Regions from separate parts of the Homo sapiens genome. Here region 2 is linked to region 1. The links are contacts of gene promoters, found by promoter capture Hi-C in blood cells and fetal thymus (Javierre and others, 2016). All regions are on one chromosome and are shown on one strand. The core of a region is centred on a gene start or on the middle of the fragment in contact, and the rest is flanking DNA. Distances in the headings are between cores, read along the strand shown. Region 1 holds the start of CD7 (CD7 molecule). Region 2 overlaps HEXD (hexosaminidase D).

Region 1 (2,700 bases), core at 154-2,653:
GCCAGCACACACGCCACCCCCAGGCCCAGCCCGAGGAGGAAGGAGATCACCGCCAGGGCCGCAGGGAGGGCAGAGGCTGCTGGCGGGTCAGGGAGGGCAGAGGCTGTCTGCGGGTCAGGGAGGGCGGAGCCTGTCGGTGGGGCAGGGAGGGCAGAGGCCCTTGGTGGGGCGTCCGAGCATCTGTGCCATCCTTGGGACTGTTCCTCTGAGAAGGAAAAAAGAAGGAAGGGATTCTCCCGGTGGAGAACCTGTTAGAGCCCCCGGGGTTTGGGATTCGGGGCAGGGAAAGGCTGTGGAGGGGAGGAGGGGCAGCTATCTAGGAGGCTGCTGGGGGCAGTGGGCTGGGAGCTGGAACAGTTCAGGCACATGTAGGAGGGAGGGTCCCACGACAAGGGCTGGGGGAGCAGAGCCTGGCCAGCAGCTGGGGTTGGGAGGGGGGTCTGGGATGGGCACATTCCCTACCTGTCACCAGGACCAGGGTGCCGGAGCCGTAGACATTGACCTCCGTGATGGCCTGGCAGGTGTAGGTGCCAGTGTCCGACAGCTGCAGGCGGTGCATGGTGATAGTCAGGTTGTCCTGGGACCCTGAGAAGTCGATGCGGCCCCGGAACCGTCTGTCCGTAGTGGGCACCACCCCGTCCTCGTAGTAAATGATGTCTTGGGGCTGTGGCCCGAGCTGCCTCAGGTAGATCCCACGCAGGCCCCCGCTGGTGGAGCAGGTGATGTTGACGGAGGCTCCCACGGGGACAGTCGTGCAGTGGGGAGACTGCTGCACCTCTGGGGAGGACCTGGGCTGTCACCATCAGTCTGGCCAGAAGGACAGAGAATGTCCTCCCTGCAGGGGACAGTGGTGGGGATGGTGGGGCCCTGAGACAGCCCAGGGCTGACATGTCGCCAAAGACACGGTGCCTTACGGGGCATGGAGCAGATCTGGGCACCGGCTGTGGTGTTGGGGGAGGTGCTGTCCTCGTGTTCCGAGACTGTGGGCTTCTTCCTCCCAAAGCAGCGGCCCTGCCTGGACAGCCCCGGCCACTCCCCACCGGGGTCCACCCTTTTTCCTTCTCTTAAATGAGTCCTCAGACACTGGAGGCCGCTCAGCACCCCACCCGCTTCCTGGGGGCTGTGCTGTGGCTCAGACTGGGGGCTCTGAGCTCATGGGGCAGGGAGAGCTCTGGAGCTGTGGCCATGGAGAGCCTGGGAAGCTCTTACCTTGGGCAGCCAGGGCCCCAGGCAGGCCGCGAGCCAGCGCCAGAAGCAGGGGCAGCAGCAGGAGCCTCGGAGGCCCGGCCATGTTCCCCACACCCAGCTCTCCCAGCCGGGCGAGTGCAGCTGAGCCTCTCTGGGTCTACAGGACCCCACAGAGAGCAGCACACAGGAGACCGCAGGCGCTCAGAGCTCAGAGAGGGCTTCCTGGAGGCGGTGCCTCAGACCAGGGTGGTGCTGTGGGCCCGGTGGGAGGGGCGGTCTCACCTACCCCTCCCCAGCACTGCCTCCCTGAGAGCTGCCCTGAGAGCAGGGCGTCCCTGTATCCCCCACTGCCCCTGCATCTCCACAGGGAGGAGGTCAAGGCCTGGGGCGGGGCAGACCAGAGGACAGAGAAGGGACTCCCTGGCTGGGGACGGGTGGCAGGGTCTGGAAGTGAGCGGCAGAGCTGGCCCCCAGCCTGCCTGGTCCTCTGGGGTACTTTCTGCTGGGACCCAATTTATGCCCAGAAATCTGGAGCCACCCATGACCCATGAGTCACCCACACAGTGCAGAGGAGCACAGGGCAGGCCAGAATTGGCACCCCCTGGTTTGGCCGTGGGGAAGGAGCCTGGGCCTGCACCCGCACCCAACGCTGCAGCCGACCAGCTGACCGTGGCTCTGCGTTCCATGTCCTGGAGGCGGGAGGTCTGAGGTATGGTCCAGGCCTGAGGTTTCCCGACCTCCCTGGGAGGAGTGCGTCAGGCCGCAGTGCCCAGCTTCAGGGGCTGAGGGAGACCTGTGCCTGGGCTCTGACCCCAGGGTGACTGAGTCCTCTGGGAGGGGGCACTTCTCTGTCCTGAGGGCCTCCCGCCACAATGACGAAGCGTTGACGTTGGTGCCCAAAGCCAGTAGGTGCAGCACATGAGCAGGAGTGTGTGGACACGTGTGTGTGCAGAGACGGGTGCGTATGGACATGTGTGTGCAGAGACGGGTGCGTGTGGACACGTGTGTGTGCAGAGACGGGTGCGTGTGGACACGTGTGTGTGCAGAGACGGATGCGTGTGGACACGTGCGTGTGCAGAGGCGGGTGCGTGTGGACGTGTGTGTGCAGAGACGTGTGCGTGTGGACGTGCGTGTACAGAGACGGCTGTGTGTGGACACTTGTGTGTGCAGAGACGGGTGCGTGTGACTCCATGCGTGTGTGCAGAGACGGGTGCGTGTGGACACGTGTGTGCAGAGACGGGTGTGTGTGGACACGCATGTGCAGAGATGGGTGCGTGTGGACACGTGCGTGTGCAGAGACGTGTGCGTGTGGATGTGCGTGTGCAGAGACGGGTGTGTGTGGACACGTGTGTGCAGAGACGGGTGCACTTGACTCCATGCGTGTGTGCAGAGACGGGTGCGTGTGGACACGCGTGTGTGCAGAGACGGGTGTGTGTGGACACGCATGTGCAGAGACGGGTGCGTGTGAACACGTGTGTGTGCAGATGGGTGCGCATGACTCCACGCGTGTGT
Region 2 (2,700 bases), core at 106-2,605, 110 kb after region 1:
TAGAAAAGCCCAGGCCAGGCTCAGCGGCTCACAACTGTAATCCCACCTACTTGGGAGGCTGAGGCATGAGAATCACCTGAACCTGGGTGGTGGAGGTTGCAGTGAGCCAAGATCGTGCCACTGCACTCCAGCCTGGGCGATAGAGCAAGACTCAGTCTAAAAAAAAAAAAGCCCAGAAATGTGGTAATCAGACAAAAGGAGGTTGTAAAAAATTGCCTGTGGAGCTCAGAAATGAATTATAAGGAAAAAACAATGTTTTTAATGAAGACTAAACTATAAGAAGTGTACAAGTGAGTAGACACCATGGAAAGTGCAGTATTTGGAAACAGATGACAGAAAAGAAAAAAGCAAACAGAGATGAAAAGGCGTTCTGACAAATTGAATATGGCAAAGAAGACTGAACTTACATACAGCTGATGAAGAGGCATTTTGACTTGGGCCAGGCGCGGTGGCTCATGCCTATAATCCCAGCACTTTGGGAGGCTGAGGAGGGTGGATCACCTGAGGTCAGGAGTTCGAGACCAGCCTGACCAACATGGTGAAACCCTGTCTCTATTAAAAATACAAAAATTAGCCAGGCGTGGTGTCAGGTGCCTGTAATCTCAGCTACTCGGGAGACTGAGGCAGGAGAATTGCTTGAACCCGGGAGGCGGAGGTTGTGGTGAGCTGAGATCGTGCCACTGCACTCCATCCTGGGGGACAAGAGCAAAACTCCATCTCAAAAAAAAAAAGAAAGGAAAGGCGTTCTGACAATTGAATATAGGCAAAGAAGATCCAACTTACACACAGCTGGAGTCCCTGTTTCCATCATCTGTTGCTGCGTGACAGATCTCCCCAAACTTGAGGTCCCCATTCATCACCCCTTGTGTTTCTGTGGGTTGGCTGCGTGATTCTGCTTTTCTGACCGAGGTGCCCTCAGGTGGTCACAGCCCCGTAACATCTAGAAACCTCTGATGGTCCGCGTGGCCTTCCATGTCCGGCAGTTCATCCCAACTGTCAGCTGGGGCTCCTTAGTTCTCCTGCATGTGTGTCATCCAGGAGGCCTAGCATGTGCCTGTAGTCCCAGCTCCTTGGAAGGCTGAGGCTGGAGGATCACTTGAGCCCAGGAGTTGGGTGCTGCAGCGAGCCATGATCATGCCAGCACGCTCCAGCCTGGGCAACAGAGTGAGACCCCATCTGTTAAAAAAAAGAGAGAGGCCGGGCACAGTGGCTCACACCTGTAATCCCAGCATTTTGGAAGGCCGAGGGGCAGATTACCTGAGGTCAGGAGTTCGAGACCAGCCTGGCCAACATGGTGAAACCCCGTCTCTACTAAAAATACAAAAATTAGCTGGGCATCGGGGCGGGCGCCTGTAATCCCAGCTACTCGGGAGGCTGGGGCAGGAGAATCGCTTGAACCCGGGAGGCAGAGGTTGCAACGAGCCAAGATCACGCCACTCCACTCCAGCCTGGGCGAGAGAGCGAGACTCCATCTCAAAAAAAAAAAAAAAAGAGAGAAAGACAAGGAAGTGGGGAGGAGAATAAGGGGGAAGGGACCCCATGAGTACAGACCAGGAACGAATGAGTTCTGCACCCCTCTCTCACCTCCCCCAGGTGCTGACCCCAACCCTTCAGAGCCCTGCTCCCCCTGCCCCGGCTCCTCCTGCCCCGTCCCCCATGCCTTGCCATTCTCCTTCAGCCTGGCTGCCCTGTCCCCCATGCCTTGCTGGTGCCCCTCAGCCTGGCTGCCTTGCTGGGCCGCCGTGCATGAAGAGCTGCTTCTTGGTGGCTCCCTGCTGGCCGGACCCGTCCCTCCCAAGCTGAGCCACCAGCGCGTTGAGTAGCAGCCCTGTTTCATAGCATATCTCCCCTTCTGTGCAAAATAGTCACTGGAACGGGGAGTTTCATTTGGCATAACGTAAAGTACACATTCCGGATTTAAGGTTCCCAGGAGAAATAGAAGTAGCAACTCCCACAGTCTCCACAGGCTGAAAGGGAAGGCGTCTCCCTGCTGTGGACTTGCCACATCGTGCTCCAGCAGCCACTTCTTCCTAACCCCTCCCTGTTTACCCCCCAGATTTTTCCTCTGTTCCGTGCGCTAGGTGCAAACGGCCTCCTCATTGAGTATGAAGACATGTTTCCCTACGAGGGCCCTCTGAGGCTGCTGAGGGCCAAGTACGCCTACAGGTAACACTGCCCGTGGCAGGTACAGGGGCGCGGCGTGAAAGCGGGGAAGGGGGGGTTCCGCAGGGCAGGAGGAGCAGCAACCTGGAGGTGCGGGTGGCACAGTCAGGAACTGAACAGTGGTGGGTACATTCCTTTTTTGTCTTTTTAAATTCATCTCTTTAATTGTATGAAAACAAAGTTTCATTTCAAACATTCACTGGAGAGAATTTTGAAACATTTAAAGGGAAAGTAAGCATCAGCAGCGCCCCCTACAGGGAAGAGCTGCAGTTCCTGTCTCTGTCCTGCAGGCGTTTCTTCTGTTGATGGGAGAAGGCTGGACTACAGAAGGTTAGAGAAGGTTAGAGAAGGTTAGAGAAGGCCAGAGAAGGAAGGCCAGAGAAGGCTGGGCTAGAGAAGGCTAGAGAAAGCTGGAGAAGGCTAGAGAAGGCTGGAGAAGGCTGGAGAAGGCTGGACTACAGAAGGTTAGAGAAGGCCAGAGAAGGCTGGGCTAGAGAAGGCCGGAGAAGGCTGGAGGAGGCTAGAGAAGGCTGGAGG

Evidence for each region. Contacts are between HindIII fragments. The CHiCAGO score rates a contact against its expected background, and 5 or more counts as called.
Region 2: a contact is called between a fragment that was not itself captured here and the fragment with the promoter of CD7 in region 1, in 1 of 17 cell types (M0 macrophages). The highest score is 5.3, in M0 macrophages.

What each region holds. Positions count from the first base shown.
Region 1 is chr17:82,316,205-82,318,904 of GRCh38, forward strand. CD7 (CD7 molecule) reads right to left here and starts at 1,404. Exons shown (of 4, transcript NM_006137.7): 1 at 1,210-1,404; 2 at 463-777; 3 at 1-205. The coding sequence starts at 1,291. The HindIII fragment of the contact is 24,830 bases long and covers 1-2,700 here.
Region 2 is chr17:82,422,338-82,425,037 of GRCh38, forward strand. It overlaps HEXD (hexosaminidase D), which reads left to right. Exons shown (of 13, transcript NM_001330542.2): 3 at 2,057-2,166. Among named protein-coding and RNA genes, the nearest start is that of HEXD-IT1, 1.6 kb to the right of the region's middle. RefSeq lists an enhancer at 1,646-2,481. The HindIII fragment of the contact is 7,971 bases long and covers 1-2,700 here.